Linked DNA regions of Homo sapiens: regions 1 and 2 are each linked to region 3. The links are contacts of gene promoters, found by promoter capture Hi-C in blood cells and fetal thymus (Javierre and others, 2016). All regions are on one chromosome and are shown on one strand. The core of a region is centred on a gene start or on the middle of the fragment in contact, and the rest is flanking DNA. Distances in the headings are between cores, read along the strand shown.

Region 1 (3,678 bases), core at 823-3,322, 640 kb after region 3:
CCTTTGCCCCTTAGAAGGTGACATTTTAGCAAAGAGACAGACAAGAGAAAAAGCAATTACAATAGAGTATAAGGAGGGCTGTGACTCGGGGAGCCATGGGGGTGAGTATTTAAAAAGGCAAAGATGGAAGGTCAGGCACGGTGGCTCATGCCTGTAATTCTGGTCTTGGCCAGCACCTTGGGAGGCTGAGATGGGAGGATCACTTGAGCCCAGGAATTTGAGACCAGTCTGAGCAATGAGGTGAAACCCTATCTCTACCAAAAAAAAAAAAAAATCAAAAAAATTAACTGAGCATGGTGGTGGGTGCCTGTGGTCTGAGCTACACGGAAGGCTGAGGCAAGAGGATCACTTGAGCCCAGGAGGTTGAAAGTCTTCAGTTAGCCATGTTCACACTACTGCACTCCAGCCTAAGTGACGGAGTGAGACCATGTCTCAATAACAAACAAAACAAAACAAAACATAAAATAAAAAGGGAAAGATGACTGTAAAATCAAAGTACCTTAGGATGTGCTTTCCAAGAGTATAGACAGCAGAAAGATCTCTCGTCTCTGCAGTTGCAGGCTTGGATTCTTGTTCAGCTCTAAAAAATTATTCTGTGACTTTCAGGTCACCTTCCCTCTCTGGTCCTGTTTCTTCTGTAAAATGAGGGCAGTGGATTGGCTGATTGCCAAGGTCTCTTTCACACCAAACAACATATTACATAAAGTCAGGTAGTTCCCATACAAGAGGCCGATCCCAATCTAAATAGCAAAGCGTTTTTCAAACCACACAGCATTTCCTTGCTGCCAGAGAGAACCCAGGTTAAGTATTTACCTTTCAGCATAACAGATTCATCTCTCTCAAATTCATTCAGTCACTCCCTTCTGTACTGACACTTTACAAAGACCCACCCCCCCCCCGCCCACAGAGCCTCCTCTCATGAACTCTCTAAAACAACCATATAGAGGAGGAATCAAACTCTATAAGGTAGAATCAGGGTCACACAGCTGAGAATTTGCAAAACCTGACTCTGGAGGGCTCCTGACTCCCAAATCAGTGGTCTTCGCACTAGTCTCCCCTACGCTGAAGCTAAAAATAGGTGAATTCTGGTCTCGGCCCCAAGGCGCATAGTCTGTGACAAGAGAATGATCGCTTTTCTACGACCCAGGGAAATTCGAGGGCCCTGATCCAGCCTGGAAGTCAGAAGAGGCCTCTCGGAGGTGAAAATGGTAGGCGGTAACCAGATCGAGGAGAAAGAGGACGTAGGAGGTAATCAGATCGAGAAGAAAGATGTGCCGGGAGGTGTAAGAGAGATTGGGGCGCTAGGGGAAGGAGGCGAGGAGGAGCGAAGGAAGATAGTGCAGGATTGTAGGGAAAACTCATAAAAAGGACAGCATCTGAACCCAGCTTAGAAAAACAATCAGAACACAGAAGACGTTCCTACCAGAGGAAACGGCGCGAGAATCCTAGAGGAAAACCCCCAAATCTACCGTCCCCTCAGAAGAACGAACGTGGCGCCGCCTCCTCTCGGGAGCTCTCTCCGGCCTCAAGGTCCAAAGCCCGAACACATCCCAGTGGCTGGCTGAGAGTCCAGCCACTCATATCTCCCTCCAGGACGGTGCAGACCACCGGTCTCCCGCCTCAGCCGTTGCCAAGGTAATCGAGAACAGAGGGAAAACACATACCGGAAGCTCCTGGAGCTTGGGTAGCTGCTTCTCGACAGAAGGCTTCCGCTCTTCAGGCGATCTCTAAGGCATGAGGTCCTTGCGGAGCCCCGCCCTACCCGCGCGGAGATTGCGTCATCTTAGGTGTCCTCAGCAATGCCTGTATAGAATTCCAGAGCCGCTGTTGCCATTTGCCCTCACTTCCGGTGGGTGGCAGGCAGGGCCACGCGTCTTCCCGAACGGAGAGACTAGGGGCGTTGTTGCCTGGCAGCAGACGGGCAAGCCTGGACTTAGGCGGCGCGCAGGACGGTCCGACTTCGTGCGGAGGCCTCCCTGAGGTCCGGGTCCTTGCGGCCACTGCGGCCACTGAAGCGGCGGCGGCGGCTGGCCCAGGAGGAAGAAGTCGAGCCCAAGCTATTTCCGGTTCCGGTGTCAGTTCGAGGCGCCGCCGCCGCCGCCGCAGCCGCCGGAGCCGCAATGCCTAAAGGAGGTGAGGGGCGGGCGCCGGTGGCCCGCAGGCCTGGAGGGGCGGCCCAGGTCCGGCTTCCGCTGTCCCCTCAGCCCGTGCGCGTCTCTGAGAGCAGCGCAGAGGGAGGCTGTCCGCACCGGCTGAGAGCCAGGCCTGGGCCTCGACGCCCAATTGTCCCGATGGGGAAACTGAGGACTGTGGTGTCCCAGAGTCACTCCGTCAGTGGTCTGAGGAGTTTCGGAAGCTCTGGGTCCTCGCCGGCCTAGAAAGCCGGATCTAGGATGCGCTTCTCCGGGTCTAGGGGTTCTGGAATTTATCCCACTCTTTGGCTGGCTAGGAACTGAGTCACCGCGTCCCGCGCTTGTGCCGGGCCCGCCTGCCTCTCGCGTAAAACGTGGGCTTTTTCTGGCTTCGGTTCAGCCAGGCCTGCCTAGGAGGACTTAAGGAGATGCCCATGAGCCTTCCAGACCTGGTTTCGACTCCCCCGTTCGGTAGCGGCTCGGTGTGTTCCTTTGAGCCAGTCGCTCCACCTCCTGTGTCTCCGTTTTCTCATTTGCCAATGGGAATAACGATTGTACCTACCTCTTAGTACTGTTGGGAGGCTTCAACTAGGTAATCCACGTGGAGTGCGCAGTACAGTGCCAGGCAGTCGTTAAAAGTGCCCAGTGAAGCAGTAACTATTCTTATTTTTAAGGCTTTGCCAGCTCTTGATCTTGTAAGTAGGTTCATGACTGCCCAGTCCATTGTAGCCCGTCCTCTATCTTCTAGCCCGTTCTCTATCCTGTTTCCCCCTTTAGAATCGATAGTCCCCAGTTTGAATCCCAGCTATGTCACGTCTAATTCTGTGGCCCTGAACAAGTTAACCTCTTCCTCATCTGAAACACTGGGCTAATCCTTAGCTTGTTGAATTGGGGCCGGGGTGGTAAAATTATAGCGCTCATAAAGTGCCTGGCCACCTCCTGGCACAGAACAAATATATTTGTGTTGGTAGCTCATGTGTTATATTGGTTAATGCACTCAACCCACAGAAACATCTGCCTGTAGCGTTTTCAAACCTAAATCGCTTCCTGACTCCAGAGATAATTGGGCATTACAGAGCTAAATGTGTTTAAACCTAGCTCTCTACTGATTTATTCTGTGGCTGGAAAAGTCTCTCTGCTATTGTTCCCCAGTCCCTTCATCTGTAAAAGGAGGTTGCTGAATGAGCCATCCTCCCTCCGAAGTTTTACTTAATGGATACTTTGGGTAAAGGTTGGAGGTTACAACGATAAAACCTTAAATATGAATTCATAGCTAAATGGTCTTTGGGCTTGTGAAAAGCTTTTTGGGGTAGACAAGGTTTACATTTTCTTGGGTTAATCTGAAAACCACAAAAAACCGTGAAGGTGTTAAAAGTATCAAACTCCCTAAGAGCAAAGGACCAACGCTTGTTTCCATTATGTTAAGTGCAAATCGTTTTTTAAAGTCTTGAAGAGTCTACTATAAAATTACTGTGGACCAAGCTAAGGTCAGGGTCCCATAGCCAAGTGCATGAGAGGAGAGCCTATAGTAATCAATTTTGAGTTG
Region 2 (3,677 bases), core at 68-2,567, 530 kb after region 3:
TGTAATCCTGGCTGCTTGAGAGGATAAGGCATGATAATCGCTTGAACCTAGGATGCAGAAGTTGCAATGAGCCAAGATTGCACCACTGCACTCCAGCCTGGGCAACAGAGTCAGCCACTGTCTCAGAAAAAAAAAAAAAAAAAAAATACTGGGCGTGGTGGCTCACGCCTGTAATCCTAGTACTTTGGGAGGCCGAGGCAGGAGGATCACAAGGTCAGCAGTTCGAGACCAGCCCGGCCTGTATGGTGAAACCCCACCTCTACTAAAAATACAAAAATTAGCCGGGTGTGGTGGCAGGTGCCTGTAGTCCCAGCTACTCAAGAGGCTGAGGCAGGAGAATTGCTTGAACCTGGGAGGTGGAGGTTACAGTGAGCCAAGATCGTGCCACTGCACTCCAGCCTGGGTGACAGAGCAAGACTCCGTCTCAAAAAAAAAAAAAAGGTGGGGGCCAGGTACGGTGGCTCACGCCTGTAATCCTAGCACTTTGGGAGGCCGAGGCAGGCAGATCACAAGGTCAGGAGTTAGAGACCAGCCTGGCCAATATGGTGAAACCTCATCTCTACTAAAAATGCAAAAATTAGCTGGGCATGGTGGCGGGCGCCTGTAGTCCCAGCTGCTCAGGAGACTGAGGCAGGAGAATCACTTGAACCCAGGAGGCGGAGGTTGCAATGAGCCGAGATCACACCACTGCACTCCAGCCTGGGTGACAGAGCAAGACTCCCTCTCAAAAAAAAAAAAAAAAAAAAAAAGGATGCATTCTGCTTTGCCAAGATCAAATTTTATTATCTCAAAGAACCACCAAATTCCCACATCTTCCATGAAACTGAAGCATTCCTAACAGTCCAGGGCTGCTCGAGCTTTAATGTACAAATAAATCACCTACATCCCCTAGGGGATCTTGGTACTTGCAGATTCTGACTCAAAAGGCCTGGGGTGAGGCCTGAGAGTTTGCATTTCTTTTTCATTTTTTAATTTAATTAAAAAAAATTTTTTTTTTTGGAGACAGAGTCTCGCTCTGTGGCCCAGGCTAGAGTGCAGTGGCGCGATCTCAGCTCACTGCAACCTCCGCCTCCTGGGTTCAAGCAATTCTCCTGCCTCAGCCTCCCGAGTAGCTAGGATTACAGGTGTGCACCACCAAGCTTGGCTAATTTTTGTAGTTTTAGTAGTGACAGGGTGTCACCACGTTGTCCAGGATCGTCTCAAACTCCGGTGATTCACCTGCAATGGCCTCCCAAAGTGCTGGGATTACAGGTGTGAGCCACTGTGCCTGGCCCCTAGTTTGCACTTCTAATAAGCTCCCAGGTAATGCCAGTGCCACGGCTTCCTGGACCACTCTTGGATTACCACAGCCTCAGAAATCCCTTCCAGAATTTCCATGGTTAGTTTCTATTCAGTCAAGAAATATGTATTAAATCTATTCTCTCTCTCTCTGCCCATCTCAGGAATAGACAAAACAATTCTTACCTTGGAAAAGTACTGTCTAATGCAAGCTTGCCCAACCCACGGCCCGTGGCCCAGGATGGCTTTGAATGTGCCCCAACACAAATTTGTAAACTTTCTTTTTTTTTTTTTTGAGACAAGGTCTCACTCTGTCACCCAGGCTGGAGTACAGTGGTGCAATCTCAGCTCACTGCAACCTCCGCCTCCCAGGTTCAAGTGATTCTCCTGCCTCAGCCTCCCAAGTAGCTGGGATTACAGGCGCCCACCACCACACCCGGCTAATTTTGTTTTGTTTTTTTGAGATGGAGTCTCGCTCTGTTGCCCAGGCTGAAGTGTAGTGATACAATCTTGGCCAACTGCAACCTCCGCCTCCCAGGTTCAAGAGAGTCTCCTGCCTCAGCTTCCTGAGTAGCTGGGATTACAGGCATGTGCCACCATGCCTGACTAATTTTTGTATTTTTAGTAGAGACGGGATTTCGCCATGTTGGCCAGGCTGGTCTTGAACTCCTGGTCTCAACTGATCCACCTGGTTCGGCCTCCTAAAGTGCTGGGATTACAGGTGTGAGCCACCATGCCTGGCCCACAAATTTGTAAAGTTTCTTAAAACATTATGAAGGGCCAGGCACAGTGGCTCACGCCTGTAATCCCAGCACTTTGGGAGGCTGATGAGGGTGGATCACCCGAGGCTGGGAGTACAAGACCAGCCTGACCAACGTGGAGAAACCCCATCTCTACTAAAAATACAAAATTAGCTGAGTGTGTGGCACATGCCTATAATCCCAGCTACTTGGGAGACTGAAGCAGAAGAATCGCTTGAACCTGGGAGGCAGAGGTTGCGCTGAACTGAGATCACGCCATTGCACTCCAGCCTGGGTAACAAGAGCAAAACTCCATCTCAAAGAAATAAACATGAGGGGTTTTTTTGCAATTTTTATTTTGTTTAAGCTCATCAGCTATGGTTAGTGTTTGTGTATTTTATGTGTGGCACAAGACAATTCTTCTTCCAGTGTGGCCCAGGAAAGCCAAAAGATTGGACACCCCTTGGTCTAATGGGAAGGGCACACAGGTAAGCCTTACAGCACAGCGTGAAGAGTGCCATGACGAAAGGTGACCCAAGTTCCCGTGGGACCATAGAGGCAGGAGCACTTACAGAGTGGAGCAGGAGACGCAGCAGCAGCAGCAAAGCCTTTTCCCAGAAAGTGACTCTGGGCAGTAGGAATGGAGATCGGGGAGACAGGGTGCTTTCCCCACAGCAGGAACAGCATGCGCAACACCCGGACATCTCACCTCTGGAAGCTAGGGACCACCTGACCCCGAGGTCACCTCTGCTTGCTCTTTGTCTAAGGTCCACAGCATGTCTGGATCTCACCATCCACATGTGCCTTGACTTGCACAGACCTGCCTGGGATTAAGCTGTAACCGGATAGTTTAGACCCTGTTGGTATTTAGATCTGGAGTCCTGGAGATCTGGGGGCATCCGTGGCTTGCTGATTTCCAATGACTAGGAAATAAGGAGCAATGACACAAAAAGGACGGGACAATGGTTACAGATGAAAGCCAAAAGCAGAGAAGGGATCTGAAACCGGGAGTGGCTAAAGACTGAAAACAGAAGTTGATGAAAATGGTGAATACAGTCTATGTCCGAATGAAGAGTAATTTTGCTAAAATAAACCGGCTAGGATCTGGTTAACAGGGCAGAGAGGATGAGAAGCAGCTAGAAACAGAGGACAAGAGCCAGATGGAGAGAAACCCTGAAAGTGGACAGAACCCAAGTGACTCGAGGAGGGAGCAGTCTGTGCCTAGGAGAGAAGCTGCTGCTGAAGCAAAGACCAGATGTGGCCAGGCGTGGTGGCACATGCCTGTAAACCCAGCTACTCGGGAGGCTGAGGCAGGAGAGTCGCTTGAACCTGGGAGGCAGAGGTTGCAGTCACGCCACTACACTCCAGCCTAGGCAACAGAGTGAGACCCTGTCTCAAAAAAAAAAAAGCAAAGATGAGATGGCTCAGAAGAGGGGAGGAGGATGGATTCAGTCAGGCTGCTTGGGTTCAAATCCTAGCTCTGTTATTCCATATCTTTGTGACCTTGGACAAATCAACTTAACCTCTCGAGGACTCAGCTTAATTTCTTTCTTTTTTTTTTTTTTTTTGAGATGGAGTCTTGCTTTGTCGCCCAGGCTGGAGTGCAGTGGTACGATCTCTGCTCACTGCAACCTCCATCTCCTGGACTCAAGTGATTCT
Region 3 (3,668 bases), core at 276-2,775:
AAAAAAAAAAAAAAAAGAAAATCCCTAGATCCCTAGGCAGCCAAATTAGATAATTCTTGAGCCACAGAATTCCACTAATTGTTACAAGTTCTTCCTTTTTTTTTTTTTTTTTTTTTTTTTGAGACGTAGTTTCACTCTTGTTTCCCAGGCTGGAGTGCAATGGCGCGATCTCGGCTCACCGCAACCTCTGCCTCCCAGGTTCAAGCGATTCTCCTGCCTCAGCCTCCTTACAGGCATGTGCCACCACGCCCGCCTAATTTTGTATTTGTAGTAGAGACGGGGTTTCTCCATGTTGGTCAGGCTGGTCTCGAACTCCCGACCTCAGGTGATGCACTCGCCTCGGCCTCCCAAAGTGCTGGATTACAGGCATGAGCCACCGCGCCCGGCCACACAAATTCTTTAACCTGAATCAAATTCCGCATCATTTCAAAAATCCTAGGTTAGTCCAAGACCAATACTCACTTTCTCCATAGCAGCCTTCCAACACTTGAAAACAATTATCTTGCCTCTTAATTCTTTTCCTCTCCACAGCTCAACTGTTCCTTAGATTTCGTGGGTTTCCAAGTACCTCACCCATCAAATCAACGTTCTTTTTTTTTGTGAGACCAAGTGTTGCTCTGTCGCCCAGGCTGGAGTGCAGTGGCGTGATCTCGGTTCAGTGCAACCTCCACCTGGTGGGTTCAAGCGATTCTCCTGCCTCAGCCTCCTGAGTAGCTGGGATTACAGGCGCGCTCCACCACACCCAGCTAATTTTTGTATTTTTCGTGGGGACAGGGTTTGGCCAGGCTGGTCTCGAACTCCTGACCTCAAGTGATCCGCCGGCCTCGGCCTCCCGAACTGCTGGGATTACAGGCGTGAGCCACCGCGCCTGGCCCAAATCAACTTTGTCCTGACACTCTTTTATTTATACATGGTTCTTTAAGACTGTTTTTCTAAACCATGAGCAGATCCCTATTCTGTGTGTGTGTTCTAGCCCGAACAAAGCCCGAGGGGACTATTTCTTCCCTTGGATTTGATTCTACCCAACACTTCTAATGAGGTTCGGCTTCCCACAGGTTTCCAACACCTTGGGCGTATTGCCATCAATGAGCCTTGCGTTCGGACCTCCAGTTCAGAGAAAGGGAAAAAAGGCGGCCACGGTCAGACTGATAGACGGCTTGGCTTGGGGAACGCACAAAAAAAACTATTCTGGAACGCGAAAGAACTTCCAAAACATCTGTTCTTCCAGCTTTCATTTGTTAAAGCCCCAAGTGGAAGAAAAGGCTTTCCAGGCAGCCAGCGCCCCCACCAGCTGGTCCTGGGCGGGGACGAGGAGCTCCTCCCCACAGCCCTGCTAGGACCGGTCTAGGTGGGGTCCTCGGAAGCCACAGCTGCTAAACCCACTCCTCCCTCCCCAGACCATTCAGCCACGGCTCCCTCTCCTGTCCGCCTCGCTAACCCGCGACCAGCAGGCTCACCATGAATCAGAGCCGCTCCGGGTACCGGGAGACCGCACCGCGTACCTCGGGACCGCGCACCCGGAAGTGCGTCATAGCCCCGCCCCCGCGGAAAAGTAGTGCGGGGCCGTAGCGGCCCCTCTAGAAATTCGGGAGGTCCTCTCTGTGTCTCTGGCCCTTGGGACATCAGGGAGGAGTTGAGTCCACCCCGAAAATGAAAAGCCAGGGACTCTTTCTGTTTTTACCGAAGACGGTCAGACCAGATGAAGGCTGCGGCGGTTCTCTCACCCAACCCCGACGCCCTGGGGCAGGGAGGGCATGGGCTGAGGCAGCCACCTCGGTCACCCTCGTGGACTTCAGAGCCCAAGGTCCCTGAGTACCCTTGGGATAAGCACAGGGTTCCTTGTCCATAAACCTGGATCGAGGTCACTGGATACCCTTGGGCCCAGCTCCTCGGTCCAGGTTTATGGACATGGAACGCTGTGCTTGGCCCGTGAAGCCAGAGATTGAGTTAATACTTCGTTGATGAAAACAATCAAACTGTAAAATATTTGAAGACATTTATTTTGAGACAAATATGAGTGACCAATGGCCCAAGGTACAGTCTCAAGAGGTCCTAAGAACATGTACCTATGATGGTCGGGCTACAGCTTGGGTTTATACAATTTAGGGAGACATAAGACACCAATCAAGACATGTAAGATGAACATTGGTTCTGTGGGAAAGGCAGGACAATTCCAAGCGGGGATGTTCCAAGTCATAGGTGAACTCAAGGATCTTCTAATGGGCAACTGGCTGAAAGTTATTGTCTAAAGACCTATAATCAATAGAAAGGAATGTCTGGGATGACTAAGGCAGGGGTCCCCAACCCTTGGGGCACAGACAGATACCAGTCCATGGCCTGTTAGGAACTGGGCCGTTACTGCAGGAGGTGAGCTGCAGGAGCAAAGCTTCACCTGTATCTACAGCCACTCCCCATTGCTCTAATTACTGCCTGAGCTCCGCCTCCTGTCAGATCAGCCATAGCATTAGATTCTTACAGGAGCACAAACCCTATTGTGGACAGTGCATGCGAGGGATCTAGGTTGTGCACTCTTTATGAGAATCTAATACCTGATGATCTGTCGCTGTCTCCCATAATTCCCCAATGGAACCCTCTAATTACAGGAAAACAAACTCAGGGCTCCCACTAATTCTATGTTATGATGAGTTGTACAATTATTTCATGATATATTACAATGTAATAATAATAGAAATAAAGTACACAATAAATGTAATGTGCTTGAATCATCCTGAAACCACGAAACCATCCATCCCCCTCCTGCCATCCATGGAAAAAACTGTCTTCCACAAAACTGGTTCCTGGTGCCAAAAAAGGTTGGGGACCGCTGAACTAAGGGGTTGTGGAGACCAGGGTTCCCATTATGCAGATGGAGCCTCCAGGCAGCCGGCTTCAGAAAGAACAGACTGCAAATATTTCTTATCAGACTTTAAAAAGTGCCAGACGCCCAGTTGATTCTCTCCTGGATCAGGAAAAAGGCCTGGAAAGGGAAGGGGATTCTCTACCAAGTGTAGATTTTCCCCACGAGAAGACAGCTTGGTAGGGTTATTTCAAGATATGGCAAAAAAACATATTTGGGGTGGAAATATTTTCGTTTCCTTCTTTATCTGCCATGTGATGTTATGCCAGAGCCTGGTTGAAAAGTCAGCCAGGTTATATAAAGTTAAATAAAACCTGTCTGATGAGGCTTTATGGTTTGAAGGGGGTGACTCTCCAGGCCCCTTAGATAGTAATTTGGGCAAAAGAAGAAAACAGTCAGAGTTTAGTCCTCAACTTTGCAGACCAGGGTCATGGTGACATCAATCAGAAGTAGCCTTGCCCTTCTGTGGGTCCTAAACTTCCTGAGCAGAAGACCTAGGGGCTGAACTCCTTCCAATGCTGCAGGACTCGATGAAGATGTCTTTGCCTGCCTTTTCCTCCTGCTGCTCTGGCTCAGCTGCAGGTTTCCAGACTGAAGAGTCTGTATTTTCCACCTCAGCACTACTCCATCGGGCCCCCTGTGAGTTTGCTTTTGTCTGGTCCTGCAAAACTCACATGTGTTGAGGAACACCAATATGGCTGCCTGCACGTGGAATTCCCTGTCCATACGCGTCATGAATTCATAGATACTCAATATCATTTTTCCCTGACATTTTCCAGGATAATTTAAAAATTTTTTATGTTTAAAGACA

Evidence for each region. The method cuts DNA at HindIII sites, captures the fragments that hold promoters and counts their contacts. A CHiCAGO score of 5 or more calls a contact.
Region 1: the fragment with the promoter of PDAP1 here is called in contact with the fragment with the promoter of ZSCAN21 in region 3 in 1 of 17 cell types (M1 macrophages); the score reaches 5.4 in M1 macrophages.
Region 2: a contact is called between a fragment that was not itself captured here and the fragment with the promoter of ZSCAN21 in region 3, in 1 of 17 cell types (M0 macrophages). The highest score is 5.1, in M0 macrophages.

The regions. Positions count from the first base shown.
Region 1 is chr7:99,406,991-99,410,668 of GRCh38, reverse strand. PDAP1 (PDGFA associated protein 1) reads left to right here and starts at 2,072. Exons shown (of 6, transcript NM_014891.7): 1 at 2,072-2,133. The coding sequence starts at 2,121. BUD31 (BUD31 spliceosome associated protein) reads right to left here and starts at 1,700. Exons shown (of 6, transcript NM_003910.4): 1 at 1,424-1,700; 2 at 500-635. MIR12119 (microRNA 12119) reads right to left here and starts at 1,497; the gene lies at 1,405-1,497. RefSeq lists an enhancer at 1,644-2,033 and a silencer at 2,244-2,303. The HindIII fragment of the contact is 3,476 bases long and covers 1-3,434 here.
Region 2 is chr7:99,515,743-99,519,419 of GRCh38, reverse strand. All of the region lies in intron 3 of ZKSCAN5 (zinc finger with KRAB and SCAN domains 5), which reads right to left. Among named protein-coding and RNA genes, the nearest start is that of ZKSCAN5, 13 kb to the right of the region's middle. The HindIII fragment of the contact is 351 bases long and covers 1,142-1,492 here.
Region 3 is chr7:100,047,631-100,051,298 of GRCh38, reverse strand. ZSCAN21 (zinc finger and SCAN domain containing 21) reads right to left here and starts at 1,525. Exons shown (of 4, transcript NM_145914.3): 1 at 1,458-1,525. RefSeq lists an enhancer at 1,004-1,623. The HindIII fragment of the contact is 10,625 bases long and covers 1-2,388 here.